Regions from separate parts of the Homo sapiens genome. Here regions 1, 2, 4 and 5 are each linked to region 3. Evidence: promoter capture Hi-C in 16 types of primary human blood cells and fetal thymus (Javierre and others, 2016). All regions are on one chromosome and are shown on one strand. Each heading gives the region's core, a stretch centred on a gene start or on the middle of the fragment in contact. The rest is flanking DNA. Distances are from core to core; before and after follow the strand shown.

Evidence for each region. The method cuts DNA at HindIII sites, captures the fragments that hold promoters and counts their contacts. A CHiCAGO score of 5 or more calls a contact.
Region 1: a fragment that was not itself captured here is called in contact with the fragment with the promoter of CD1A in region 3 in 2 of 17 cell types (fetal thymus and M2 macrophages); the score reaches 17.7 in fetal thymus.
Region 2: a fragment that was not itself captured here is called in contact with the fragment with the promoter of CD1A in region 3 in 1 of 17 cell types (fetal thymus); the score reaches 10.7 in fetal thymus.
Region 4: a fragment that was not itself captured here is called in contact with the fragment with the promoter of CD1A in region 3 in 1 of 17 cell types (fetal thymus); the score reaches 5.7 in fetal thymus.
Region 5: a contact is called between a fragment that was not itself captured here and the fragment with the promoter of CD1A in region 3, in 1 of 17 cell types (fetal thymus). The highest score is 5.3, in fetal thymus.

The regions. Positions count from the first base shown.
Region 1 is chr1:158,483,009-158,485,708 of GRCh38, forward strand. The region is part of intron 2 of LOC107985213 (a long non-coding RNA gene); the gene reads right to left. Among named protein-coding and RNA genes, the nearest start is that of OR10R2, 12 kb to the left of the region's middle. The HindIII fragment of the contact is 1,988 bases long and covers 305-2,292 here.
Region 2 is chr1:158,499,646-158,502,345 of GRCh38, forward strand. No RefSeq gene overlaps it. Among named protein-coding and RNA genes, the nearest start is that of OR10R2, 29 kb to the left of the region's middle. The HindIII fragment of the contact is 6,418 bases long and covers 1-2,700 here.
Region 3 is chr1:158,253,145-158,255,844 of GRCh38, forward strand. It overlaps CD1A (CD1a molecule), which reads left to right and starts at 1,280. Exons shown (of 6, transcript NM_001763.3): 1 at 1,280-1,583; 2 at 1,940-2,206. The coding sequence starts at 1,526. The HindIII fragment of the contact is 5,152 bases long and covers 1-2,700 here.
Region 4 is chr1:158,436,014-158,438,713 of GRCh38, forward strand. No RefSeq gene overlaps it. Among named protein-coding and RNA genes, the nearest start is that of OR10K2, 11 kb to the left of the region's middle. The HindIII fragment of the contact is 1,285 bases long and covers 655-1,939 here.
Region 5 is chr1:158,416,456-158,419,155 of GRCh38, forward strand. It overlaps OR10K2 (olfactory receptor family 10 subfamily K member 2), which reads right to left. Exons shown (of 2, transcript NM_001004476.2): 2 at 1,755-2,700. Among named protein-coding and RNA genes, the nearest start is that of OR10K2, 8.4 kb to the right of the region's middle. The HindIII fragment of the contact is 1,425 bases long and covers 636-2,060 here.

The DNA of each region.
Region 1 (2,700 bases), core at 49-2,548, 230 kb after region 3:
AAAATAATTTGCAGTGACAAAATGGCCTTGTTTGCCATCATCATACTATAGCCATCATTAATTAAAAAGGCAGTAGAAGATAAACATAAATTTGCCATTCTGTGCACCACATTTCTTTACTTACAGCTTATAAAGTGGGATCCTATGGAGAATGGTCCTGTACCGGCCTAAGAATCAAAAAAGGTCTTATTTGAAAAGATTATCTCCTTCTTTGTCCAATGTCTACCATCAAAGTTTTTTTTATTTTCACCTGTTTCATGAAGTATTACCTGATTTCCATTCTTCAAAACACCATAGCATTGTAAGCTTTACTTATACTTCTTACTGAGCTCTGACATATTGAGCTGATTATGTACATATCTTATTTTCTCTAATGGACAATCAACAACGTGAAAGGAAGTAATTTATTATACCGATACATTAACTCCTCCTAAATGTCTTTTATATCCCTGACATTCAGGAGATAACTAATACATGTCTCTTAACTTTAATTGAATAAATGACTTCTTGGTCTAGCTAAGAAAAACATCTGAAACTACATGTGAAAGTGTAGCAATATTTATGTCCCCCATAACAGTAATTAAAAATAACAATGACAATGATAATTTATTTTGCTCATTAATCTCTTAAATGGGAGAGGGCTTATAAGATTGGCTTGTCTTAACTCCATACAATGTCAACTGAGCTGCTCAACTAGAATTGAGGGACCCACTTCCATTTGGCTCATTTACACGGCTGGCAAAATGATGCTGATTTGTAGTGGAGCTGAGTCAGGGCTATAGGTTGTGAGAGTCAGTATCTCTCCATGTGGCCCTTTTCATGGGGTTCTATAAACTTTCTCACAACATCATGACTGGTTTCAAAGACTAAACATTCCAAGAAACAGAAAGAGGAAGCTGCTAGTCTTTTAAGGCATAATACCAGCAGGTTGTCTGCTCCTGACACCCAAAAAGACAATGATGTGATGGGCATAGGAATAGCAATGGACATTCCCTTGTGAAAAAGGAGGAAATTAGACACATCACAGTCATTGGTCCATAGAAATTCTGAAATTCATCTGGACACTGTTGCCAGTCCTATTTTCTGGGAATGAATTCCATGACTCTTAGATCTAACCTGTGATGCCATTTCCCCACTTTCTGATCATCCTTTTTTATCTGCAAGACATAGCTACAATTTGCAGACATGTCATTTCTTAGTCTGATACCTCCATGGAAGAAGTTGAGGGTCCAAAGGTCTATTCATTTCTGTTTGCTCTGTAGCCTTTAGCACATGTTGATAGAATGCCTTTTTAAAACTTGGTGAGTTTCTTATGTTTCAGTTTATAAATTAATTCCATTAGATAAAAGTCACATCCATATTCATTTCTTTATTATGGGTCACTTGTGAGGTAGCAGTATTAATAACTGCTGTATGGCAATTCCCTTAAGATTCTTAAAAAGACTTATTGCTTAACTTTAAGGAGTCAGGCCCTTAGGATATTTATAAATCTTGTTGGGTATAGCCTAAAATATTTCTGAGTTCTAACAAAAAGTATTACAGCTACATTCTTAAGAGGTTTACCCTGAGGCATTGGTTTCCTGATAGCACCTTGGATTTGATTTCTTCCTTGAAGCCATTTTGTACCTTGAGAGTCTTTGTTGAGAGAGACTGTGCATGAGAAACATCTTTATTTGCAAACCCAACAAGTTTTGTTTCTTTCTGTTTCCTCTAAATTCTCAGAAACTTAAGAAACTTTAAAAAATTATGTACTTTTAAATTGACAAATAGTCATTGTTCATATTCCTTAGGTGCATAGTAATATTCTGATATAAATAATGTTATAGGGATCAGATCAAGGTAATTAGCATATCATCATCTCAAACATTTATCATTTCTTCATGTTGGGAATGTTCAACACCCTCCTTCTGGCAATTTGAATCTATACATTACTGTTAACTATAGTCATCCTACAGTAGCAAAGAACACTGTAACTTATTCCTTTATCTAGCTGTAATTTTGTATCCTTTAGCAAATCTCCACCTATCCTTCCCTTTTCTCTACTATTCCCTTCCTCTAGTATCCTGCTGTCTACTCTCTTTTCATATTTTATCATTGGTTGGAATTTTCTATAGTCTTCCTAGAAATTTACCCAGGAAGATAATGAGATTACTAAATAGTCTATTTTCCAGGCTGTAGCATGTGGTCCTGCTGCCAAACTTTAGAGCAATGGATAATAAGTATCCATGTTTTACCTAAGTATGATAACAGTTTCCTCTCTGTCCTTCAAATATTTTTCTCTCTGTGCTTCAAAGCTTTACCAAGAGTTGCCTTATGATCCTTTCACCTTTTAGTAAGAGACTCCTTAAGTCCTTATGGATTATTTATACCACCAATTGCAAAATTAATGCCAAATGTTTTAAATGTTGATTATAACAGCACCCTGCCTTTAGATACCAAATTCTGTTCTCATTATTTACTGCTGCATAATCAACTCTCTACAACTTTAGTTGCTTAAATGAGCTGTAATTATTTTGCACACAAGTCTGCAATTTTGGCAGGGCTCAGTGGGGACAGCTGGAATTTGTTCTTTGTCCCAGCAGGTTGGATGATTCAATTGGGGCTGAAGGATTTACTTTCAAGATTGCTCACTTATGTGCCTGTTTTATTCGTGTTAGCTATTGGTTGTTTGCTCAGCTGGGGCTATTGGCCAGGAGCCTT
Region 2 (2,700 bases), core at 131-2,630, 250 kb after region 3:
TTTATACTAATACTAAAAGTATAGCTTAATAAACATTTCTTGAAATCAATGTAATGCCTTCTGGATTCTGCCCTCTTAGTCCTCATGGGAAGCCATCCATAAGGAAGAGCTATACTTTAGAACTTGCTGGAAAACCACTCTCTGAAGTACTCTGTGGGTGGGGGGCATCTATGGGAGGATGCTTCTGTTTGCAACCTTCTGGCAAAATACCTTTGATGATGGTACTGCCTGGGAAGTAGCACTACTGGGCGTCCTACTTGTTACTAGACTTCACACACACAGCATGTCCAGGCAGATGAAAGCAGCCAGAAATGGGAAGAGAACTCCGTTTTAACTTCAGTGTCCCTTCACGCCTTCTACAGAAGAGCTTAACATCATGTCTGCTGGTAAAGGAGAAACATTCCAGTAACACAATCAGGACAAGTAAAGGTAGATTTGGAGCTAAAAGGCAATTACATTCTTAATTTTCTTTCTTTTTAAAATTTTGACAGAATTTAGATTTATTCATCCCTATGAGCCCTAGAATTATGTTAATGTCAGGAGATGTTTATAAAATATACTCCACTAAAATTTTTCTGAAAATTCTAACAAGGACATTTGAAACAAGGGTTACATAGGTCAATTACAATTTCACTCAGAAAAAACAATAGCACTCTTGATTTATTCAGTAGTTGTTTTTTAATATAGCATGAGTCACAAATAAGCTAGTTTTTCAACTAGGTCAACACTGACTTTTTTTGTGTGTGATAAGAACATTTAACATGAATCCACCCCCTGATCAAAAGGTATTGGTAACTGTAATCATATATTATGCCATTCTTGCATTGCTATAAAGAAATACCTGAGATTGGGTAATTTATAAAGAAAAGTGGTTTTGTTGGCTCATGATTTGCAGAATTTACAGGAAGCATGGTGCTGGCATCCACTTGGCTTCTGGTGAAGGCTCAGGGAACTTTCAATCATGGTGGAAGGTGAAGCAGGAGCGGGCACATCACATGACCAGAACAGGAGAGAGAGAGTTGGGGGAAGGTGCTGCAAATTTTGAAATGGCAAGATCTTGTGAGAACTTACTCACTATCATAAAAATAGACCAAGTCATGCGAAGTTCACCCCCATGACCGAAACACCTCCCACCTTCAGCACTGGTGATTACAATTCAACGTAAGATTTGTGTGGGGACAAATATCCAAACTATATCAATATTTCTCCGGCTCCTCCCAAATCTATGTCCTTCTCACATTGCAAAATATATTTATGCCTTCCTAAGAGTCCTCCAAAGTTTTAACTTGTTCCAGTGTTAACTCACAAGTCCGAAGTCCAGAGTCTCATCTTTGACAAGGAAAGTCCCTTTCATTCATGAACCTATAAAATCAAAACCAAGTTATTTACTTCCAAGATACAATAGGGATACAGGTATTGGGTAAACGTTGCTATCCTAAAAGAAAGAAATTGGCCAAAAAAATAGGGGCTATAGGCCCCAAGCAAGTCCTAAAGCCAGGAGGGCAGTCATTAAATCTTAAAGCTCCAAAATAATATCCTTTGACTCCATATTCTACATCCAGGTCACACTGCTGCAAGCTCCTCAGAGAGGTGTCAGTCATGGCTCTCAAGGCTTAGGGCAGCTGTATCCCTATGGCTTTGCAGGGTTGAATACCCATGGCTGTTTCCACGGGTTGGTGTTGAGTGTTCTTGGCTTTTCCAGGTGCAGAGGGCAAGCTGACAGTGGATCTTCCTTTCTGGGGTCTGGAGGATGGCGGTCCCCTTCTCACAGCTCCACTAGGCAGTGCCCCAGTGGGAACTCTGGGGCGGGGGGCAAACCCACATTTCCCCTCTGCATTGCCATAGTAGAGGTTCCCTGTGGGGTTCCCCACCCCTGCAGCAGGCCTCTGTCTGGGCACTCAGGCTTTTCCATATGTCCTCTGAAATCTAGGCAGATGGTGCAAATTCTCATTCACTCTGAACTCTGTGTGCCTACAGGCTTAAAATCATGTGCAAATTGCCAAGGCTTACAGTGGCTTGAACTCTCCAAAGTAGCATGTTGAGCAGTACCTGGGCCCCTTTGAGCCCCAGTTGAAGCTGGAGCAGCAGGATGCAGGGAGCAGTGTCATGAAGCTGTGTGTGTGGCAGTAGGGATTCTGGGCCTTTAATGGAAGGGGCTGCCACAGAGGTCTCTGAGATGCCTTCAAGGCTTTTCCCCCATTGTCTTGACTATCAGCACTTGGCTCCTTCATAGGTATGCAAATTTCTTTTTTTTTCTTTTTTTTTTTTTTTTTTTGAGATGGAGTCTTGCTCTGTCACCCAGGCTGGAGTGCAGTGGCATGATCTCGGCTCACTGCAAGCTATGCCTCCCAGGTTCACGCCATTCTCCCGCCTCAGCCAGAGTAGCTGGGACTACAGGCGCCCACCACCGCACCCAGCTAATTTTTTTTTTGTATTTTTAGTAGAGATGGGGTTTCACCATGTTAGCCAGGACAGTCTCGATCTACTGACCTTGTGATCCGTCCACCTCAGCCTCCCAAAGTGCTGGGATTACAGGCGTGAGCCACCACGCCTGACCCACTTAAGTATGCAAATTTCTTTAGTAAAGTGGTTGTTCCACAACCTGCTTGAATTCTTCTCCCCTCAAGAGCTTTTTCTTCCTTTGCCACATTGCCAGGCTGCAGATTTCTCAAACTTTTATTCTCTACTTTCCTTTTAAAT
Region 3 (2,700 bases), core at 30-2,529:
TGAAAACCAAAAAATAGTAAATAGCCCAGACACATTTATATGGATGATATCTACAAAGCACAAACATATATTTAGAAGCCCTTCAACAGTTACAAGCAGCGTAAAAGAGGAATGTAAATGTGTCCGGCAAAGACTCATTTATAACAAAACAACCCTGAAACATCCAAATAGGACTAATAAAAAGGGATCCTGGGATAAAGACTTTGGAATACTCCATTAACTTCACTGCTCACAAGTTCTGACTAGTTTCTTATAAGTAATAGGACATTTATAGCAGGATCTTTTATGTAAATCTCATGCCAGTAACTTGTACTTTTATCCTAAATAAAACTGTATGAGATTCTCATCTCACTACATAGGGTTACAAGTAACTTTTATGATATCTTTAAAAAGTTTCATGTTGAATATCACCTCCATAATTAAAAAATGGATGCATAGACTGAATTCATTCATTCATTTGACAAATATTCACTAAGCACCTACCACTTGTGAGATACTCTGTTAGGTGGGGATACAGTATGATAACTGTATGGAACTAACACTCCAAGTCAAACATTGAAGTCAAAATTCTGGGCTGGCGTACATTAGTTAGGAGCCCCCATTTTAGAAAATATTATTTCAAGCAGGCCTTGTTTTTATCCAGAGAGTGTATACAGTATAATAAAACTCAGTACACCAAGATTTATATTTCATGGCGTGTTTTTCTCCCTAAGTAGAGAAAAAGCTCCTTCAGTAAAGTGATTGTGTTGTCAACCACTGCATATTCTTAAGTGTACCAAGATGCTTGACTCCAGGCAGGTGCTAAGAGAGACTGTTGGGTGAGTGAATGTATATCAATGAAAATCAAACAGAGGAAATTTTCTTTATATGTTTTAGTGTTCCTGTGGTTTTTTTTTTTTTTTTTTTTTTTTTTTTTTTTTTTTTTTTTGTGATGGTTACTGGCTCTTCTCTAAGAATAATGGAGAAAAGGTGTTAGTTTGTACTGTCGCACAGGGCAGTCGTAGGAGACTCTGAAAAAGCAAATAAATCAATGTTAAATCAGAAATGTGAATGTAGTAAGGGGCTGAAGAGACAGGGGAAGAGAATACATGGGAAAATATTGAAAAGGACAGAGTGATCAAAAAGAGCAGGGACATGGGAGCATTGGGCAGCACACTGGGAGCCATTTCACTTTATGCTCTTATTGTATGATTGAGAAAAAAATGTCCTTAGTGGTTAAGTGGCTTTTCAATGCCACATCAGACTTGTTCCATAGCAGTTGAATTAGGGGAAGGTGAATAAGTTGGAGGTTGGTGACAAGGAGAGAAGCTGGAACAGAGAGGAGAGTCAGAACCAGAGGGAAATGAGAGACTGAGTAGGCATCTCAGGGTTTTTGAAGGAGTGGATTTTCTTTGTTGCAGTCAGGGGAGGTTTGTCTGTTGGCTGCAGAAAGAAGTCAGAATAGAGATATCGTGGGGTAGGTTTGTTTGGAACAGAAATCAAAGACCAATTTTTCTGAGAGAAGGAAATAACATCTGCAAATGATATGCTGTTTTTGCTACTTCCATTGTTAGCTGTTCTCCCAGGTGATGGCAATGCAGACGGTAAGAACTCTGACAACTGCCCAGTTGGGTGGTGGGTGAAGGTCTCTCTCTCTCTCTCTGTGTGTGTGTGTGTGTGTGTGTGTGTGTGTGTGTGTGTGTGTGTGTGGTTTCCCTAGCATATACCTGGAAAGTGAGAGTGCCAGGCTGGTTCCATTCTGACTATCCATGACTCCAGGTCCCTGAGCTCTTATGAAGGTGGTTGATAAGGCATGGGACTGTGTGGCAAGTGAATGTCTGCTAAGATCATGATGGATCCCCTTTTCTCCAGATTCTGAGTTCCCGCACTCTGGCACCTTTCTCTCTCCATCCTCTTTCTCAATGTCTTTCTCCCCATTCTATCTGTTCTTTTGTCGCAGGGCTCAAGGAGCCTCTCTCCTTCCATGTCACCTGGATCGCATCCTTTTACAACCATTCCTGGAAACAAAATCTGGTCTCAGGTTGGCTGAGTGATTTGCAGACTCATACCTGGGACAGCAATTCCAGCACCATCGTTTTCCTGTGCCCCTGGTCCAGGGGAAACTTCAGCAATGAGGAGTGGAAGGAACTGGAAACATTATTCCGTATACGCACCATTCGGTCATTTGAGGGAATTCGTAGATACGCCCATGAATTGCAGTTTGAATGTGAGTTCAGTTTTCTCCATGGAGAGTGGTGAGGTGGGAGAGAGGGGTTGTCTCAATGTTTCTTATTCCTTTAGGAAACAGCCTGACTCTCTTCTGTATCTTATTCTATTCTTTCCACCATAAAACTGCAATTGCATACTTTTGGGCAAGGGCTATCATCCAGACCTTAATTCTCCAAACACTTCTGCTACTTATGAACTCCTCTCTCATTGATTGCAGGGTTGTGCATTATTATCTTTTCTTACAGGTATCCCAGGACCACCCTTCTGCCTGCCCTACAACCAGATACCTTCAGCTTTCTCACTTTCTCATTCATTCTCTTCAGCAGTCTCTCTATATATACTCAATTGTAACCCATTGCATTTAATTCAACCTAAGTTGTTATAATCCCAGTTCTCTTACACCAGGTCCTTGCTCACCCACAGCATTCACATCACCTTCTTTGACCAGTTTGCCCTCTTCCTCATGTTATTAATCTTTTCCTCCACCTACAG
Region 4 (2,700 bases), core at 47-2,546, 180 kb after region 3:
TTGTTTTTCCAGTTTTTGAAATTTATCAGGGTGGAATTACAGAGTATATAAGATTTTTGTTTAGTTTTCTTTCACTTAAATAATGTTTGTGAGATTTACCCATATTAGTAAATATAATAGTAAAATTTCACTGTTGCACAAAAATAAATTATATGAGTGTACTTCAATTTATTTGTTCTACCATTGATGGATATTTAGGTTATTTCCAGGTTTGGGCTATAGTGGAAAGCAGTGCTGGGAACATACTTGTACGCTTTAAGTAACATATCACTCAATTTATTTGGTATCCACTAACAGTGAAACCACTGAGTCACAGCATATTGCTGTAGATTAAATTTTTAGCCACAATTCTTTATTCCTTTCTATGTCATTTGCTATATGACTTTGCAGTTTCTCTTATGAGAGGCAGAATGTAACTTCCTAACCCTAAACTTTGGGCTTTTATGGGATTTATATTAACCAATGAAATGTGGGCAGAAGTCATAGCCAGTTTCAAACCTTGGCCAAAAGAAACATTGCAAGTTTTCTGCCATCACCATGAAAAGAGTTTTTTCCCAAGTAGCTTCTGTTCTTTTAACCTGAGCTCTAGGATGAATATATCTGATGCAAATCTAACCCCAATCTACCAAAAGGAGTCAAACCCAAGTGACATGAAGCTTGAAGGAGAGCCGCTATTCTAAGCCCAGCTTAGATCTCTAAATTGACTTGCAGACACAAAAGCAAATAAAAAAAATTTAAAAATGTGGTTAAAAACCAAATAACGTAAAATTCACCAACTCAACCATTTTAAGTGTAAAGTTCAGTAGTGTCAAGTATATTCCTATTACTGTAAAATAGATCTCCAGAACTTGTTCATCTTGCAAATCAGAAACTCTGCACCTATTAAACAACTTCTCTTTTCCTAAGTGAAATAGAACAGCCACAAAAAGGCAAGCAAGGACTTTAACTTGTGTTTGGAAGTGGTGTGTTACACAGCAAAAGGTAAATAAAAGTATATACATGTTCTAGTATACTATTCTCTGCCAAATAGTTTTTCAAAGTGGCTGTATAAATTTACACTCATGCCAGCATTGTATGGAAATTCCAGTTGCTTCTCATCTGTAACATTTGCTATTGCAACTCATTTTTATTTGAGAAATTCTGATGAGTATGTGTAATTAGACTTTCCTTTTCATGATATTAGTGACATTGAGCACATTTTCATGTTTACCAGCCACCTGAATTTCCTCTTTCTTGAAAGTCTTGTTTGATATTTTGTGCACTATAGGGATATTCATTTTTATTATTGATCCAAAATATTTTATATGATATCAATACTTTATTGATTACATGTACTTCAAATATTTTGTGTGACTTTGTAAATTTCATTTTCACTCAGTTGAAGATGTCTTTTGATGAACATGTTTACCTATTGTTTAGCTGTCACTTATAAGTAAGAACATGTGGTATTTGACTTAGACTTTTGTTCTCTTTGACTTTTTAAACAAAAGATTACTTCTGTACTCTTTGACTTCTTGTATTTTCATATTTCGTATTCCTAGGCATAGTAATTCTTTCTGCTGACATACAGAAATAGAATTTATTTTTGTATTACCAGCTTTGTATAAGGCAATCATGTAAATACATTTCATTTTTAATTCTTATATTTATCTGCCTATTCTCATGTAATTTTGTTTTTGTATCTCTGTACTGTTTATGTATTTATTAAGGTACAATTGACAGAAATTATATATATATATATTTCATATCCAATGTGAAGTTTTGATATACAAATACATTTTTCAATAATTGGTACAATCAAACTAATCAATATACCTGTCACCTCACATAGTTACCTTTTTTTCATGTGTGTGTGGTGAGAATACTTACTGTCAACAACTTTTCAAGTATAAAATACATTATTGACCGTAGTCAACATTCTGTACATTAAAATATCTAAAGCTTATGTATCTTATAACTGAAAGTTCGTAACTTTTGACCAAAATGTTCTCATTTCCCCCACCTCCTTGCCTCTAGCAACCACCCTTCTACTCTGCTCTTATAAGTTTGAATATTTTAGATTCCACATATAAGTTAGATCATGCAGTATTTATCTTTCTTTGCTTGATTTATTGTACTTAGCAAAATGTCCTCTAGGTTCATCCACGTTGTTGTAAATGGCAGAATTTCCTTCTTTTTAAAGGCTGAATGGTATTCTATTGTATAAAAGTATATACCACATCTACTTTAGCCCTTTGTCTATTGAAGGACATTTCATTGTTTCATATCTTAACTATTGTAAATAATGTTGCAATGAACATGGGAATTCCGATCTCTCTTTGAGATAGTGATTTTATTTTCATTGGATATATACTCAGAAGTGGTACTGCTACATCATATGGTGGTTTTATTTTTAATTTTTTGAGGACATTCTATACTGTTTTCTTTAATGGCTATACCAATTTACTTTGCCACTAACAATATACAGGGGTTCCCTTTTTTTTGCATTCTTTCCAACACTTGTTATCTTTTGATTTTTTGACAATAGCCATTCTAACAGGCGTGAGGTAACATATCATTGTGGTCATCTGCATTTCCCTGATTAGTCATGTTGAACACCATTTCATATACCTTTTGGCCATTTGTTTGTCTTCTTTGGAAAAATATGTCTACTCAGATCCTTTAGCCATTTTAAAATGACATTGTTTATTTGTATTTCTG
Region 5 (2,700 bases), core at 98-2,597, 160 kb after region 3:
GAAGGTTCTAGCATTGGACCTCCAAGGTTTCTTCTCTGAACTCCTGGTTTCTATTAACACCACATTTTCTCCATCCATTGCAAGTCTAAGCAGAGTAGCCATTTTCCTTAATTATACAAATGTGTTGCCCTAGCATCCCTTTTTGCTTTTACAAATTTTCACATTCGTGTAAGCAATTCCCTATATTAAACCAGTTCTGTTTGAAATAATTGCCATTACTTTTGTTTTATTGGCTTACCCTTGAGAGTTAGAGCCTCGGACATAACAGAATATAACATTGAATATTGAGTGTGGGTAAGCACTTTAGACTTCCATGATATGTGGGAGAAACGGAATGCTCAGCATAAGATGGAGTGAGTAACGGAAGTGGTACTCTGGTAGAGATTCAGGATTGGCACATGTTCTCACAAGTGGGAGCTAAACAGTGGGTACGCATGGACATAAAGATGGAAATGGCAGACACTGAGGACCCCAAATGAGGGAGGGTGAGAGGGAGGTTAGTGCTGAAAAATTATCTATCGGGTACAATGTTCACTGTTTGGGTGATGAGTACACTAGAAGCCCAAACCTCAGCATCACACAATATATCTATATAACAAACCTGCACATGTGCCTGTTGAATCTATTTTAAAAAAAGCTTTTGGTTTGAGGAAGAGAAAGTAGGATCAATTGAAGGAGTAGGAGGCTGGCAATCTAGGGGAGAGATTTGGGAAGAGATATCTAAAGGTGATAGTTGGAGTGGAATGTGATTCTTCGCTAAATGTTTTTTTGAAAATAAAAATTTACCTGAGGGGTTGGATATTGGTTTATATGGGGCACTGAAAACAGCTATTATGTGGGTTGCCTTCTGTTAGTGTAAATGTGTACTTGTCCTGGCACTTGGTGAGAGCTGTCTTATGATTTCAATTGTCATCGATCTGTTCAATGTTAAAGGATGTCTTAGAAAATCAGTCCAAAGCCAGCCTCATAGGCTACAAATCTAGTTTTAGTGCTATTATAATTTTTTGTGGCCAAGGTAACAGAAATTCCATAATCCTAACTTGGTATAACCTTTTCTTTTCCCTATAATGTATTCAAAAACATATATACATAATAGACTATGATGAATGGGAATTCAAAACATCAATTTATTATTATTGGTTGAGTTTATGCTTAAAATTCAAGTGCAGATTTCTCTGTAAGCTAAACAGGCATATGTGGCCTAGTTAGAAGGCCTAAGGGACTTTACTCTCTTGCTAAGGCCAACTACAAATCTAAAAATCTTACCCCTCTCCTGCAAATTACATATGACTGGACAATAGAGATATGTGTGTATGCACATGTGTGAAAAGAGGAACAGAGAGAGCAAGATGTTCAGTTTTAACACATGGGAGTGCAGGCCAATGTCAACTTAATTTTTCATTCACATGGAAAAAATAAGAGGAAGGATAAAATGCCAGGAGAGTCATTTTTTATATTCATGACCTTTTAACACAAAGTGGTCCTGCCCACTTGTCAGTGTTGTGGTGTCAGACACCAAAATAATAGTATCCACAGCTCTTGGAAAGAAACAAGGTTTAAAAGACTATTTAACATCAAGAGTATATCTTCCCACAGATGACCCATGGCTTAATCTTCTATTGTTAAAGGTGAATACTTACACATTCTACTCCATTAATTAAAAAAATCACAGTCTTTTCAAGAGGTCATGTGAGAGCATTATAAAAGCATTAATAAAGAAAATATATCGTGTGGACTCAGTATTAATTCTTTTACTCATTAGTAGGCAAGTCATTTTATTTGTCTGAGTGTCATTTTTCTCATCTACAAAATGTCGATTATAATATATACTTCCCAGTGTGCTCTAAAGTTTAGATGAAGTAACATTGTTAAACTGTAGCACACAATGCAGCTATAAATAATTAACACATTAAACTTAGCTCATTTACTTTTCATGAATCAACTTGATATGCTAGAGGCCTGGGGTGGGCAATATGGCCAAGGAAAAGACAACTTGGGGGCCACTGAAATTAATTTTGCATCAATCTCTGATTTTCAACCCCCATCAGCAGCAAGTTTCAAGCTTCAAAGAAATGGAAGAAATGCAATTGACTTACATTCTTGGCAGATGTCCTACAATAAACAGGGCCTGTGAACAAAACATTCCACTTCCTTCCCTCCCGCTTCAACCCCTAAAAGGTATATGTCATTGATGAACAGACTGGTGGAAGAAAAGGAAAAAACTTAGAAACAAAATTAATCAATCAGGAGACTTTTATTGACAGGTGGATCTTGAAAAGAGTTATAATGTGAGAAATCATCACTATTGTGAAACTTCCTTTTTGCTATCACTCCTGCAGAAAGGACAGAGAATGAAAACATCAAATTCAAGTTCTGGTCTCAAATGTACATGCAAACTCTTGAGTTGCATGGAGAACAGATTGATTGTTCCATATGCAAAGCTTTCCACTTGGTGAATATTTAGTGAAATTGACTTAATCTTTAGCTTGCCTTGCCTGGTCATTTAGGGTGATTTTAGGTCTTGTCATTAATCCATTCCCCTGTGAATATCTTCAGGGTATGCTGACCAAATTTAGATGTATGCCTCTGCATACAAAATTAGAAATGATCGTATTTCATTAATACACTAGAAGCATGGAAATGGATAACTTTTCATAATTTTCTAACTTGAACATTATTTGGATATATCTTATGCATCAA